2 separate regions of the Homo sapiens genome follow, and region 2 is linked to region 1. The links are contacts of gene promoters, found by promoter capture Hi-C in human tissues and cell types (Jung and others, 2019). All regions are on one chromosome and are shown on one strand. The core of a region is centred on a gene start or on the middle of the fragment in contact, and the rest is flanking DNA. Distances in the headings are between cores, read along the strand shown. Region 1 holds the start of REXO4 (REX4 homolog, 3'-5' exonuclease). Region 2 holds the start of BRD3 (bromodomain containing 3).

Region 1 (7,932 bases), core at 2,892-5,391:
AGGCCTAAGCCATCTAATCTGGAGAAGGGACACTGGACCAGAAACCCACAGACGGGGGTTCACAAGGAATGCCAGGACCTCGGCTGACTCCCTCTCCGGGGTCCCCGCTCCCATCTGACAGATGAGAGGCTGTGCCAAAGACATCGTGGTTCTGGCTCAACTCTCCACCTACTCTGTGCCTGCGCCTGATGAGGAGAGTCGCAGAAGCAGGCTGCACGGCACCAGATCTCAGCATCATCACAAACGGCCTGGCAATCCCCTTCATCTCCTGGAAGACTCACTTCACATGCTCCAAACCACTCTTTTACACCCACAGAGCCGCACAAGCTGATGACCAGCAGGGGGATTCACCTTGTCTTTCCACCCCTCAAAGTGCAGCCTCTCTCCTCCTCTGCGATCAGGGAGGACACACCTACACTTCCTGCCAGGCCCTGGCTCTGGATCCCTTCCCAGCTCTCTCCTCCTGCATCGTTAGTTTCTGCCCCTCTGCTAGAGCCATTCATTCATTCCTTCAGCCAACAAATGTTTCACTGAGCCCCTGAAACAGGCCAGGCTCTGTGCTAGACACCAGGAAAGCAGCCCCAAGCCAGGCAGACAGCAGCCTCGGCCTCTCACAGCTTAAATTCTAGGGAAGAGAGCCAGACAGCAAAGTTGCTAGACAGACACATGTTGTATATGTAGTATGTTCAAAGGTGGTAAGTGTTATGGAGAAAAATACAGCAGAATAAAGGAATGGGGGACTGGAGGGAAGGGTGTGCTTTCATGCAGGAAGGTAAGGAGGCTGTTGGAGAAGGGGGCATGCTTAGATATCGAGATCCTGGTACCTGGCTCACTCCATCAGCATGAATGACTCTCCTGTCTCTTTTTGGTTTTTGTTTGTTTTTTGAGACAGAGTCTTGCTGTGTCACCCAGGCTGGAGTGCAGTGGCACGATCTCGGCTCACTGCAACCTCCGCCACCCAGGTTCAAGTGATTCTCCTGCCTCAGCCTCCCTTGTGGCTGGGATTACAGGCACCCGCCATCACGCCTGGCTAGTTTTTGTATTTTTAGTAGAGGTGGGGTTTCGCCATGTTGGCCAAGCTGGTCTCAAACTCCTGACCTCAGGTGAGCTGACTGCCTCGGCCTCCCAAAGTGCTGGGATTACAGGCATGAGCCACCAAGCCCAGACACTCTGGTGTCTCTTGATTACAATCAACAACCTTCCCTTGACCCACACTGTCCTCCTGCCATAGCCCTGTTTCTGGCTGTCTTTAAGAACTTAGAAACATTATTTTCAGTGGCTATCTCCACTTCCTTGCCTTCAATTCCCACATACCATTGAAATTGATCTTTAAAAGGTCACCAATAACTTTGTGAACCCTGAAAGAGCCAATCCTTCTTGATGGATCCCAAGTTACTAACTGGGCCTAAATTCAAAGTAGGACCTAGCAGCCATTTGCTGACTAGGGTCACACACACATTCTGCGTTCCTGGAAAGCCCCCACTCTCACTTAACTCTGGGATGGTTTCACAGCTATCTGTTCCTGTTTATGCCGCCAGAATCAACCCATCGACTGTGACCTGCATCGACCAATCTGAACTCAGCAAGTATTAACCAATCAGAACTAAGCAAGTGTGCCTTCCTCATTTGCATAAGTGGACCAAAGTGGGAACCTGGGCAGGAAGTTCTCTACAAAAGACGACCTCTTTCTTTGTTCTCTTTGTTCCCTGGAATGCACCTTTGTACAGAAGGCTGCATTGCCCTGGTTTACAAACTGCTGGAACAAAGTTTTTTTCCTTTTTTAAAAAGAAAACCTGGGCCAGGTGTGGTGGCTCACGCCTTTAATCCCAGCACTTTGGGAGGCCGAGGCAGGTGGATCACGAGGCACGCGGATCATGAGGTCAGGAGTTCGAGATCAGCCTGGCCAGCATAGTGAAACCCCGTCTCTTTTCAAAAATACAAAAATTAGGCTAGGTGCGGTGGCTCACGCCTGTAATCCCAACACTTTGGGAGGCTGAGGCGAGAGGATCACCTGATGTCTGGAGATCCATACCAGCCTGGCCAACATGGAGAAACCCCATCTCTACTAAAAGTACAAAATTAGCCGGGCGTGGTGGCACATGCCTGTAATCCCAGCTACTCGGGAGGCTGAGGCAGAAGAATCACTTGAACCCGGGAGGTGGAGGTTGCGGTGAGCCGAGATTGCGCCATTGCACTCCAGCCTGGGCGACAAGAGCATAACTTCGTCTCAAAAAAAAAAAAAAAATTAGCTGGGCATGGTGGCGTGCACCTGTAGTTCCAGCTACCCAGGAGGCTGAGGCAGGAGAATCGCTTGAACCCGGGAGGTGGAGATTGTGGTGAGCCGATATCACGCCACTGCACTCCAGCCTGGGCAGCAGAGCAAGACTCCGTCTCAAAACAAACAAAAAAAAAGAAAACCCTTTTCGGTGGACTTGCTGACAATCTCAGTGCCATATCTGGTTCCCATCTCTCTGTCCTCGTCCTTCTCAGCCTCTCAGCAGCATCTGATGTGGTTTATTCTCCCCCTGGATTCTCTGATGCCACTCACATCCGCTTCTCCTCCCACTGCACTGACTGCTCCCCCTCAGCCTCCTCTGCTGCTTCGCCCCTGGAGAGCCCCCAGCACCTGCTATCTGGTCTTAACCCTTCACTCCCTATATTGGTACTCTCTCTTTGGATGAACTAACCCAGGTTCATGTTTCAACACTAATTATGTGCTGACGATTTCCAAATTACATCTCCAGCACTGACCCTTCCCTAAGCTTAGGAATCTTATATCCTGCTGCTGATTAGACGTCTCTCCTTGGTGACTGACGGCCCGTTCAAACTCAGCAAGTGTGAAAAGGAGCTCATGGCTCCACCCCCATACTTCACCCTGCTCCCCGCAGACATTTATTGAGATGATAAATGGCCACACCCAATTGCTCAGACCAAAATCCTAGGAGCCTCACTTCCCTGTTACTCCATCAACCTCTGCCTGTTACACACGCACATCAAATCTACCCACTCCCGGCCGGGCACGGTGGCTCACACCTGTAATCCCAGCGCTTTGGGAGGCCGAGGCGGATGGATCACTGGAGGTCAGGAGTTCAAGACAGCCTGGCCAACGTGGCGAAACCCCAGGTCTACTAAAAATACAAAAATTGGCAGAGAGTGGTGGCGTGCACCTATAGTCCCAGCTACTCAGGAGGCTGAGGCAGGAGAATCGCTTGAACCCAGGCGGCAGAAGTAAGGGAGGAGACCACCCCTCATATTGTCTTATGCCCAATTTCTGCTTCCAAATAAAGAAGTAAAAACTAAAAGGCAGAAATAAAATCCACAGGCAGACAGCCCGGCGCCGCGCCCTGGGCCTGGTTAAAGATCAATCCTTGACCTAACCGGTTATGTTATCTATAGATTTCAGACATTGTATGGAAAAGCATTGTGAAAATCCCTGTCCTGTTCTGTTGCGTTCTGATTACCGGTGCATGCAGCCCCCAGTCACGTACCCCCTGCTTGCTCAATCGATCACGACCCTCTCACACAGACCCCCTTAGGGTTGTAAGCCCTTAAAAGGGACAGGAATTGCTCACTCAGAGAGCTCGGTTTTTGGAGACGTGAGTCTGCCGATGCTCCCCACTAAATAAAGCCCTTTCCTTCTACAATTCGGTGTCTGAGGGGTTCTTGTCTGCGGCTCGTCCTGCTACAGAGTGAACTGGCAGGAACTCCTCCCGGTGCCTGGGCCTCAGTTTCCCCACTGTACGTGGAAGATGAGCCGCTGTGAGGCTGAGCAAGGAGCAGCCCAAGGCGGGAAAGGCTCGAGAGTCCAGGACGCAGGCGAGCGACCTAGCCCGGCTCTCACTAGCCCCACCGCCCAGTGCCCCCAGCTCAGCTGCCCTACCAGGTGCTACACACACAGCGGCCCCCCAGTTCCCTTCCGGCGTTCGCATCTCTCATCCCCATCCCGGATCTTGGGGAGGTCCTCGGCTTGCCCCAGTCAAACTCGAGGTCGATGACCCCGGATGCCGCTGGCTAAGGCGGCGGCCCAAGTCCCGTGCGGGTGAACCGCCCAGGCTGCGCGGAACCAGAGGCAGGGATCCGGTTTCCAGCCGGTTGTGGAGAGACGAGCGCTTCCGGGGACTGGAGCGTGCGTGCTGAGGTATGCGCAACGCGTGCGGGGTCTCTTCCGGAGTCTTTTCCTGGACGGGGTCCCTGCGGTGGGTGTGTTTCGGCCTGGCCTGGGCAGGCGCTTGTGCTGCCAGGGCGCCGGGCCCGGGGAGGCCGGGGTCTCGGGTGGCCGCCGGCCCAGGCGCTGGACGGCAGCAGGATGGGGAAGGCGAAGGTCCCCGCCTCCAAGCGCGCCCCGAGCAGCCCCGTGGCTAAGCCGGGTCCTGTCAAGACGCTCACTCGGAAGAAAAACAAGAAGAAAAAAAGGTTTTGGAAAAGCAAGGCGCGGGAAGTAAGCAAGAAGCCAGCAAGCGGCCCCGGTGCTGTGGTGCGACCTCCAAAGGCACCAGAAGACTTTTCTCAAAACTGGAAGGCGCTGCAAGAGGTGAGGCTTGAGGGGGCCCGGGCGGAGCGCTGCGCAGCTCATTCCCGCAGAACGCGACGGAGGGAAAGACTTGGGTAGCCCCAAAAGACCTGTAAAGGCAGATTTGAATCGAAATCTTGTAAACAGCTTTTCACAAGAAAGGTGGCCTGTTGAGGGAGGTCTCGAACTTGTTTGCTTGAAAGAAATTGATGAAAGAATTATTTCAAGTACAAAAAAGCAAAGATAAACCCTTGTACCTTTTGCATAATGAACTAACTAGAATGGATTTTACAAAGAGAAATTTAGCTTAAAATCCCGAAACCAGGCCGGGCGCGGGGCCTCACGCCTGTGATCCCAGCACTTTGGGAGGCCGAGGCGGGCAGATCCCCTGAGGTCAAGAGTTCAAGACCAGCCCGGCCAACATGGTGAAACCCCGTGTCTACTAAAAAAGTACAAAAAATATTAGCCGGGCGTGATGGCGCGCGCCGGTAGTCGCAGCTACTCGGGGAGCCTGAGGCAGAAGAATCGCTTGAACCCGGGAGGCAGAGGCAGTAGTAAGCCGAAATCGCGCCACTGCACTCCAGCCTGGGCGACAGAGCGAGACTCCATCTCAAACAACAACAACGAAAGAACACACTGGTCTGTGTAGCAAGACAGGGAGAAAGAAGATTCCTGTGTAGAAGTGAAAAGCAGATAGCAGACATGTGATGGGGTTCTAGCGACACTTACGGTCTTGAAGTAAATACTAATTGAGCTCCTAAAAATGTGCACTCTGCCATGTGCTCTATGCCATGCGTGTTGCAATCCCCACAATAAGACTGTGAGGTGGACACTTCCATCATCGCTATTGTACAGATGAGGAAATAGGCTGGAAAAGTTTAAATAGATCATCTAAGATTGCGGCTGGGAACCAGGTGGCTGACTCTGGAGTCCATGCTTTTAAGGCTGTGTTGTACCTGCTGTCTCCCTAGTGACCTGCACTTCTGTAGAGGTTGCCTGCTCTCTCCTAGACACTCTTCCACGTGCGTCACTCATACATTCTTACCACATCCCTTGGAGCTCCCTTGGAGCTACCTCCTGTTAGGATCATAGCTCACTGCTGCCTGGGCTCCAGTGATTCTCCTGCCTCAGCCTCCCGAGTAGCCCACACGTGTAATCCCAGCACTTTGGGAGGCCCAGGCAGGAGGATCACTTGAGCTCAGGAGTTCAAGTCCAGCCTGGGCAACATGGTGAGATTCCATCTCTAAATAAAAGTAAAAAGTAGTTTTTTTAAAAAAGAAATGTGATCCCCAGTGGTGGAGATGGGGCCCATAGGAGGTATTGGGTCATGGGGGTAGATCCCTCATGAATGACTTGGTGCCCTCCCCTCAGTAACGAGTAAGTTCTCACTCTGCTGGTTCATTTGAGAGCTGGTTGTTTAAAAAGAGCCTAGCACCTTTTTTGCTTGCTCTCTCACCACGCAACACACCTGCTCCCCCTTCACCTTACACCATGATGGGAAGCTTCCTTCGGCCTCACCAGAAGCAGATGCTGGCACCATGCTTCTTGTACAACCTGCAAAACCATGAGCTACATAAACGTTTTTTCTTTATAAATTACCAAACACAGGTATTCCTTTATAGCAGTGCACAATGAACTAATACAGATGGGGTTTCACTTTGTTGCCCAGGCTGGTCTTCAACTCCTGACCTCAAGCAATCCTCCCACCTCAGCCTCCCCGAGCGCTTCTTGAACCTCCTAATACTCTGCACAGTATCTCAGTGCAGACATTCCTGTCTTAACACACAGGACCAGTCAAATTCCCGTGGGCAGCCCCAGGGTTCTGTGGGATTTCTTGAACACCAACTCTTCTTCCTTCTCCCAAGAAAGAAAAGCAAAATAAGTGAATGGAAGGGATGTGTGCTATAGGGAAACTTTGGAGTGTTTTCTAATTCATCCAAGAAAGTCAGCCCTTCAGTTCTTTACCTATCACAGAACAGGTAAGTAGCACCCGCCTCATCATCGCACTGTGGTGGCGCCCACTCCCACTGGGGATTTGAACACAGGGAGGAAGCTGGGCTCTAAGACTACAGGAGCCTCTGCTTGGGTGACAGCCAAGGTGTGTGGCTGCTAGCAGTTCTTCAGCCACTCCAGTTTGACAGAAGCTTTTCTTTTCATTTATGACACCCCCCACCTTCCTGAGATCTTCACAGCAGTAGCAAACCAGGGAATCTTGTAAAAAAAAAAAAAGCGATTTCTGTGTAGCAGGATGTTGGCCCAAGCTGTGAGGGAAGTTAACTCCAAAATTCTTTCTAGATAAGCTGAAAAGGGAAGTGGTCTGTGGTGTCCAGCCACTCAACAGGTACCCAAGGTGTAGAATGAGTTTGACATTTTGTATGCATGAAGGAGCAGGTGCAAAATGCATTATAATAAGATAAGCAAAGAAACAGCATTTCACCACAAGTGACCCATGAGAATGAAAAAGAGCTTTTTCCAAACCGTTTGAAAATGAATTTCAGTGATGCGGATGGGAATTGTATAGATGTGTTTGGTGTATATGTGTGTATATACATACACACGTAAGTTTTTTCAATCTGCTGTGTGTAATTTCCAAATTCAAATGCAGCATGTATTTTATTTTGGGTCCCAGTGGCTGCTGAAACAAAAATCTCAGGCCCCAGAAAAGCCTCTTGTCATCTCTCAGATGGGTTCCAAAAAGAAGCCCAAAATTATCCAGCAAAACAAAAAAGAGACCTCGCCTCAAGTGAAGGGAGAGGAGATGCCGGCAGGAAAAGACCAGGAGGCCAGCAGGGGCTCTGTTCCTTCAGGTTCCAAGATGGACAGGAGGGCGCCAGTACCTCGCACCAAGGCCAGTGGAACAGAGCACAATAAGAAAGGAACCAAGGAAAGGACAAATGGTGATATTGTTCCAGAACGAGGGGACATCGAGCATAAGAAGCGGAAAGCTAAGGAGGCAGCCCCAGCCCCACCCACCGAGTAAGTATGGGCCACCTCACCACTGAGAACCGAGGCACAGCGACTTCACCAAGGCCTGTCTCCTTATGGAGGCTGGTGGCCTCACCGCAGTCTCTCCATCACTTTACCCTGATGTCGTCTGTTCCTTTGTTTACTCGCTGTTACTTGTTTTCCCCTAGAGTGTGCGCATGATAAGGCAGGGCCTGCTTCTTCCGAGCGTTGAGCAGAGCTCAGCATTTAGTGGGTGCCAGTACACGTGTGTGGAAGGAAAGCGTGCTGAAGCCAGAAAGACCCAAGTATGAGGCCTGTCCCTGCTTCTCGCCAGTTGGGTGGTTTGGGGCAAGTTTCTGACGTCCTCTGTGCCTTGTGGTAGTCATGGTGGCATCATAAGGAGATTGTGAGGTTGGCACTCTTGGCTCAGTGCCTGGTGATTACTTCAACCCTGTGATGGAGCCAGGTGTGGTGGC
Region 2 (7,932 bases), core at 1,801-4,300, 650 kb before region 1:
GGTCCTCCTTTAGATGTGAGCAGGTGGCTGCTTCACTGGTAGAGCTTGGGCTACACTGAGGTTTGCAGATGGAGGCTGGAGGGCAGGACAGAGGTGCAGAAGAGAACATTTATTCATTCAACAACTATGTATTGAGCACCCACTAGGTGCCAGATACTGTTGAAGGATGTTTAGGGATACCTCATGGACAAAGTGCTCTGCTCTCATGGAGCCGTGAGACAGCCCACAAGGAGGCTCAGGAAGTAAAACGTGAAGGTAGAGAGGTGAGTGATGGCCAAGGAGGCAAAGGCAGCAGCCTGCTCCTGATCACAGCCCCAACCTTTGCACATGCCCCCCTCCCTTACCAGAGCTGCGGGATCAGGTTCTATTTTTATCCTCCTGTGACAGGGGAGGAAACCTGGGTCGGGGAGATTAAGTGGCTTCACTTGGGAAATTCAGCAGTACCAGAGGTTAAAATTCCAAGAGCCTGAGCAGGAAGGGAGAGGATGATGGGCTGCTAGGGGCTGGAGGGGACTGCAGAGCCACCCCAAATCCCTTCTCAATGGCAGCCCTGCTGGCTTTCAGCTGTTTGCCACTGTGGCCCCTAAACTAGTCTTCAGAGATAGTAGCACAGGGGCTGAGATGCTCAAATGAGAGTTTCTGTCCTGTTCCCTTACAGATTCTGCTTCCTAGAGACTTCTCCAGCCTCGGGAAAGTTGGCTCCATGGAGCCATCCGGGCCACTCATGTGTGGGTGAGCAGCGGGAAGGGAAAGAAGGGGACCTTGGTGCTTCCATCAGAGCCAGTGCCCAGGGAGCGCCTGGGTTCCTGCCATACTCCTGGGGGTCACCTTAGGGCAGTGGGAGGCCCATAAGGGTTGGGGGCATTTGGTCAGCAGCCTCAGACACGCTGGCTGGTCAGGGCAGCCTGCTGTGTGCATGTACCTGGGTTCCTTGAGGTCAAGACCAGGCGGAAAGGCTTTTTGTTCTAGCCTTGGGAGGAGTGCAGTGGGGTCTGTGTAAGTGGTGAGGTGGCCATCCTGGTGGTCAGAGTGCTCAAGATACCCAAGGAGATGAGATGCAGACAGCAGGAATGGGTTGCAGCCTCCAAGGTGGCTAACACAGAAGCCTGTAGGTTGAGGAACTGCACCGGGGGTTTGGGGACACAACCAGGATGGTAGTTCTAAGGGAACTGCCTGCAGATCCTCACCTCTCATATTCCCCCTCCCCGACCTTCCTGCGCCTGAGGACTGCACTTTGTCCATTTTGCCAACTAGAAAGGCAAGGCTGGAACCTCGTCCTAGAGCCTTGCCCTGGAGTGTGAGAAGGTCCTGGGCTCCCAGCAGAAACAGAGGGACAGGATTGGGAAAGGTGTTGGCTTCCCCTGCAAACTCTTCCTAAGACCCCGGGGCTTTGGGTCTCAGCCGTCCTGCAAATTGGCTCTGTGACCTTGGGCAGGACCCTTTGCCTCACTGAGCCTGTTTCCTTACCTGTCAGCCTGGAACAGAACACCTGCCTTCTGGGTGAGCATGGGGATGAATTGTCTCTGTGCTGGCACTCACTTTGTGAATATTGCATAGATGTGTGCATTTCAGGCAGTGGAGCTGCTGCTCAACTTGGAACACACCTGGGGACCCCAGGGGCTTGGGGTGGGTGCAGCCCACACAAGGAAACTCGACCTTGCAGTTGGCAGGTTCAGCAGGCACCAAGGAACCTCGTTTTGTTTTTGACGTTTTTATTGGGGTCTAATGTACACAACGTGTAACCACCTTAAGTTACAGCTGGATTAAAATTGATTTATGTGGCCGGGTGCGTTGGCTCACGCTTGTAATCCCAGCACTTTGGGAGTCCGCGGTGGGCGGATCATCTCACGTCAGGAGTTTGAGAACAGCCCAGTCAACACGGTGAAACCCCATCTCTACTAAAAAATACAAAAATTAGCCGGGCGTGGTGGCGGGTGCCTGTAATCTCAGCTACTCGGGAGGCTGAGCCAGGAGAATGGCTTGAACCCGGGAGGCGGACGTTGCAGTGAGCCGAGATCGAGCCACTCACTACACTACAGCACTCCAGCCTGGGTGACAAGAGCGAAACTAACGTCTCAAAAAAAAAAAAAAAAAACAAAAACCAAAAAAACAACAAAACCCCCCCCCCCACAACTTGATTTATGTGTAAACCCGAGTCGTCATCACCCAAAACAAGATGCAAAACGTGTCCACGGGCTGAACCTTTCAAGATACAGAAAAAGGGCCAGGGGTGGCCCTCTCCCGGAATCTCAGGCTGGGAACCTGGTATCTAGTTCCCGCCCCTCACTGGGCAGATGGGGAAACCGGGGCTTGGGGCGAGAAGGTCCCCAGGCAGAGCTGGGAGCACCCCTAACTCTTCGCCAGCTCTGGGGACTTGGCGCCCTCTCCAGCAACAGCGAACTTGGGCGCCCGCGCCCCAGCAAGTCGGGTGGGGGAGATGGTGACACGGAGGGCGCGGCAGAGCGCGGCTCCTCCCCGGGCGGGGCCGACCTGCCCGCGCGCACCGACGCCCCGCCCCCCGCCCCGCGCGCGCGCTCCCGCCAGGCTAATTAGGCGCGCGGTTTGTTTACAAACACGGGCTCCCGGCAGGTGCGCGCCGCCCCGCCCGTGCGCGGCCGGGGTTCGAGGGTGGCTCCCGCGGGCCTCGGGGTGCCCGGACGGGGGCTGCGGTGCTGGCTGCGTGCCCGCTTCTTCCATGCCGTCCTGGGGCACCGGAAAATCCGCCGCCAGGCGCTGTCCCCGACACGGGGTGAGGAGAGCCGTGCGGGCCCGGGCGGGGAACGGCCCACGGGGTCCCAGCGTTGTTGCCCTGCCGGGCGGGCGCCGAGCCCCGCCCCCGCGCGCCCCCCGGGCCAGGCCCGCTCTCGGCCGGGTCGGCGGGGCGGGCGGGGGCCCCCGGGGCGGGGCGCGGCGCCGGCGGGGCCGGGACATGTAGTCCGCGCGCCCGCGGCCTCCCCTGGGCGGCCCCGGCGCGGGCCCGGCCGCGGACTACGACTCCCGCCAGGCGCCGCGGCGCAGCGCATGAGCCCTGCTCGGCTCCGGCGCGTCTATTATGCTGCCGGGGCCGGCGAGCCAAAGAGGAGCCGGCCGCGCGGGCCGGGAGGGGACGGCCGCCGGAGCCGCGAGGCCAAGTACGCCTTTCTCTTGCTTCCTTGCGCGCGCGGGGCGGCGGGCGGCGCGGGCGGCGGCGGGCCGGGCTGGGCCGGGGAGCGCGGCCCCGAGCGCCCCGCGCAGTCCGCCGGCGCGTCCGGGTGAACCGGGCGCCCGGGGCCGCCGCCGCCGCCGCCGCCTTTGTGCGCGGCCACGATGCAACAAAGCGCGGCGGCCGCCCGGGGTCGCGGCGGCGGTGGCGGCGGCGGTGGCGCGGGCTCCGCTCCCCTCCTCCCGCTCCCGCTTGGCCGCCTCCGTCCCGGACTCGGGGCGTCGCTGCGGCCGGGGCGCGCAGCCCGGAGTTGGCGCGGCCCGCGCGCCCCGCGCCAGCCCGGCCTCCGCGCGCCCTCCCTCACGGAAGGGATTTTTTTCCCCCTTTCCTCCGCCCGCCATCTTTCGAAGGGGGAACCCAGGGAGGACGCGGAGGGGGAAGGTGCGCGCGGCGGCCCCGGCCTGCGGCCGTGCGCTCCGCGGGGCCACTTTCCCCGCGCCTGTTCCGCCGGCCTCGCTCCCGAGCCGTTGCTGGGGCCCGCGCCTGGGGACCGTCGCCGCGCGCCGCGGCCGGGGCGGGGGGCAAGGCCGGGCTCGGCCCTGGGCTCTGCGCGGCCTCCTCCCAGAGTTACGGGCCCAGAGCTGACTTTGAGCCCCCCTGAGTTGCCGGATTATTGCACCCAAACCAGGGGGAGACCCAGTTCCCGTTTTGAAATCAGCCTGAAAATCGCTTAATCCGGGCGAGGGCGAGTTGGAGCGGGAGGGACGGGGGTGCTTCCCCTCCTTCCCACTTTTGGGGGGCGCCGGAGTGACAACGTGATACAAGCCCATCCGGGGAGAAATGCGCACCCCGAACCGTGTACACCCACATGGCCCTGGTGGGCTCTCTGTGAATAAAGCTGGGGCGTGCGGGAAGTCTTATTCCACCGGTTGCTCGTTCGGGGGCAGGGCCGGGATGGGGGCTTCGCGCGGCCTCCTTTCCCTGGAGGGCGAGAACTCGGCCCGCCGAGACCCACCGGGGGCAGGGACCCGGCGTCCATCGTGTGGGTTCCTCCGTTCGACCCAATCCTTGAGTGGTTGCGATCTTTAATTTTGGTTGAAAGCTTTCTGCTCAGAAATAGATACTGGGATTTCTCCCCCTTACATTAAACTTGGTCATTGTCTGCAAAAGTTAACCAGGAGGGGAGACTGTAGTGCATTGGTGGGCAGAGTAATTGGGCTGGAACTGCAAGAGGCAGCTTCGTGTGTCCCGTCCTCCCCCGCCCTACCCTGTGAGAAGGAACAGAAGAGGAAAAGAGTTTTCTTTTTACCCTGCTCTTTTGTAGGCTTTTCCCCTTACTCTTTTCTTTAAAATGGAGGGTTTTTTTTTTTTCCTGGGTCCATGTAGTATGCCTGGGGAGATCCTGGAATCTATGCAAAGTTGTATGGCATTTTTCTGGGGAAAGTAGTTTGTTACTGGCTTCCAACGGGGTCTAAGGAAGGTCTGAACCCCTGCAAGGGGCTGGCCTCGGGGGTTAGGGAGCCCTCCCTCCGGGTTCTTCCCTGGCAGCCCTGATGCAGCCTCTCATTTGCAAATAAAGGTCTGTGTTTGCCGTTTTCTCTGTTGAGGCCTTGATGGGTGCTGGTGGTTACTGATCATGAAAGATAAGGCACACGCTGTAACAGGACGGGCTGCAGGCGAGCGAGGGGCATTTCTTTCTGACCTTCCGGGTAGCCTCAGAGGCCCGGTGCCTCAGCAGGGCACCGGGTGCCTGGAAAGACTGTGGGAGCAGCTCCAGCCTGAGCCCTGCCGTTGGGACATCCGGGGAGGAGGGATTTCAAAAGCTTTCTCCGAGTGGGCAGTCACTCCATTTTTATTTTTGTTTTGTTTTTAGAAAGTAGAGTAATTACTTTCCTTTGACAACAGCTCGCGCCTGCTTCGGAAGTGAGTGAGCTTTGAATGAAGGACGGGACTTGCAAACAGTGCCTGCCCTACACTCCGAAGTAGTCATACCCAGAAAGTGAAAGTGGGGGTGTGCAGAGCGAAGCAGCCAGGCCTGCTGCAGCCGGTGCTACCTTCCTCTACCCTCTTCCTCCAGGCTCTGGAGATGCCAGCCGCGGGAGCCCTGTGCACCAGGCGGCAGTGATGGCCTTGTGCGATTCCTGGTGCCACCAGGAAGTGCCACCACTTTCCCTGAGGCATGGTGGCTCAGGGTTTCCCAAGTGGGGTGATTGGCACAAAACCAACAGCTATGCCCAGTTGTCGATGGGAAGAGCCATGTTTTGCTGTGGATACACACGGTACCGGGGCGGGGTATGGGGAACCGGGGCCTACTCTTCCCAGCGTTGCTGCCTGGGAGGTGGGGGCATGCCTGAAGTCGTGCTGCGGGTCTCTTGGTTTTCAAAGCAGTTAACGCAGTTGGTCAGAGGATCCTCCTCTTGCTTCCTTGACCGGTCATCAAAGTATAACTGACCTGACGGGGTTCCTGTCCTAGGCAGGTTCCTTTTTTTTTTTTTTTCTCTTCTCCTCTTGAGATGGAGTCTCGCATTGTTGCCCAGGCTGGAGTGCAGTGGCACGATCTCAGCCCACTGTAACCTCTACCTCCCGGGTTCTAGCAATTCTCCTGCTTCAGCCTCCCAAGTAGCTGGGATTACAGGCGTCCGCCACCACGCCCAGCTAATTTTTTGTATTTTTAGTAGAGACAGGGTTTCACTGTGTTGGACAGGCTGGTCTCGAACTCCTCACCTCGTGATCCACCTGCCTTGGCCTCCCAAAGTGCTGGGATTACAGGCATGAGCCACCGTGCCTAGCCAGCAGGTCCCTTATATCACGAAGCCAGTATCTGGTTGAAGCTAGAAGGTAACTGGATGAATCATGGTAGAATGCAAGGCTTCTTGCCGTAAAAGGTTTTGGAACTTGCGGGTCTGCCTTGGGCCTTCCCGACCCCTGTGGCTCCGCCCCCTTGTTGGAGCAGAAGAGATGCACAGGTAGCAAAGCATGATGGGGTGCCAGGTGCATTTGGGTCAGCGTTTGCCAAGAATGGCCTTGCTCCTGTGTTTTTGTTGGTACTGCCACCTTGTAGAGGTGCCCAGCTGGTGGCGGAGCATAGGGTTTTCTTTGCCTATTCTCCTTCCTGTGAAATCATGGGCACAGACATCATGGGCCCCTGTGCCCGGGCCTCCCTGCTCTGGTTCCTGGGCTCCTGCCATCTGAGAGGCTTGAGGGCTTGCTTATTTGTTTGTTTGTTTGTATTTTTAGTAGAGATGGCGTTTCACCATGTTGGCCAGGCTGGTCTCAAACTCTTGGCCGTGAGTGACCCACCCGTCTCTGCCTCCTGAAGTGCTGGGATTACAAGCGTGAGCCACCATGCTCGGCCAAGATGCTTGAGAGCTCATTTATTTATTTACTTATTTTGAGACAGAGTATCACTCTGTTGCCCAGGCTGGTGTGTAATGGCATGATTTCCCTTCACTGCAACCTCCACCTCCTGGGTTCAAGCAATTCTCCCTGGCTCAGCCTGCCAAGTAGCTGGGATTACAGGTGCCCGCCACCACGCCTGGCTATTTTTTTTAATTTTTTTTAATTTTTTAGTAAAGATGGGGTTTCGCCATGTTGGCCGGGCTGGTCTTGAACTCCTGACCTCAGGTGATCCACCCATCTCAGCCTCCCAAAGTGCTGAGATTACAGGTGTGAGCCACCATGCCTGACCGAGAGCTCTTTTAAAGAGAAAGTGTCACTTTGGGCCATTCACCTGTTGGTGGTTTAAATTGTAAGTCTTCTGGCCACTCCTGATTGAGCTCGCAGTGGAGCCAGGACCTGTGCGTGTGGCTGGAGGCTCGGACCCTGTTGTGTCCGTGCTGTTGGCTGTCTGCGTCTCGCACCAGTCTGTGGCTGTTCCCTGAGAGTCAGTTCGCAGGCTGCCTCCTCACAGGGCCTTCGGAGCCTGGTGTTGGGAAGATGGGGCGTGGAACATGCCCCCGCCCCCCTCCTTGCCGCAGGCCCCCAAGGTACTGAGTTCGTCAGAAGTTAATCCGGTATTGTGGGAGACAACTTTTCCAGCCACTTGGAAAAGTGTCCCGCTGAGGGTGCAGTGATGTTCAGGAGTCGCCGGCTGGATCTTTCTGAGTGTGGCTTGATAACCAGCTGCAGCATTTTGCAAAGCACCCAGTGGACTCGGGTGTGATCTGCAGAGGCGGCTGCTGGCCAGGCCTGGAGTCTGGGGCAGAGGGAGTGCCCTCAGTGCACCTGTGAGGACCTGGGACTAAGAGTCGGTACCTGGGAGCTGTGGGACTCTGGGGCGGGACGGCCTTAGCCTCCGTGTGAGCACTGACCGAGATGAGGCACAGATGCATCTGTGTGAGGTGCCCGGCCCCTGCAGGAGTGCTGAGTATTGTAGCTATAACCTGTCATGTGGCAGAAGGAAGAATCTACTATAAGCGGCTGAGAGGATGCCCTCCCTGTGCCATGCGTCACTGGAGCCTTGGCCTGACAATCCCACAAGGAGCAAAATGTGCAAAGGGGCAGCTGTGTGAGCCTGCGGGTCCAGGGTGCCACCCGCCCCCATCTGCCCACACCACAGGACAGAGCCCTGGGTATGCTGACCAGGCCCTCGCTGGTACCAGGGGCTGGGTAGGAGGCAAGGGTCAAGCACGGTGGCTCCGTGGGCTGTGGACTCACAGACAGATGTGCTGCATGCCCACGCTTTGCTCTTAGCTCTGCCTCCGGTCTGTCCCGGCAACAGGCCTGGGGGCGTCCTGCAGTCCTCGGCATTTGTGGTTGGGGGTGAGCAGAGAACATAGACGAAATAACCA

The links. The method cuts DNA at HindIII sites, captures the fragments that hold promoters and counts their contacts. A contact is called where the count stands out against the background at its distance.
Region 2: the fragment with the promoter of BRD3 here is called in contact with the fragment with the promoter of REXO4 in region 1 in 1 of the 25 tissues and cell types used here (IMR-90 fibroblasts).

Annotation. Positions count from the first base shown.
Region 1 is chr9:133,414,219-133,422,150 of GRCh38, reverse strand. REXO4 (REX4 homolog, 3'-5' exonuclease) reads left to right here and starts at 4,141. Exons shown (of 8, transcript NM_020385.4): 1 at 4,141-4,531; 2 at 7,140-7,486. The coding sequence starts at 4,307. It also overlaps a transcript of ADAMTS13 not described here. RefSeq lists enhancers at 30-89, 210-259, 490-629, 3,827-4,046 and a silencer at 4,157-4,396. The HindIII fragment of the contact is 5,032 bases long and covers 1,302-6,333 here.
Region 2 is chr9:134,063,144-134,071,075 of GRCh38, reverse strand. It overlaps BRD3 (bromodomain containing 3), which reads left to right and starts at 3,050. Exons shown (of 12, transcript NM_007371.4): 1 at 3,050-3,131. RefSeq lists silencers at 2,445-3,174, 3,355-3,604 and an enhancer at 7,576-7,932. The HindIII fragment of the contact is 16,877 bases long and covers 1-4,605 here.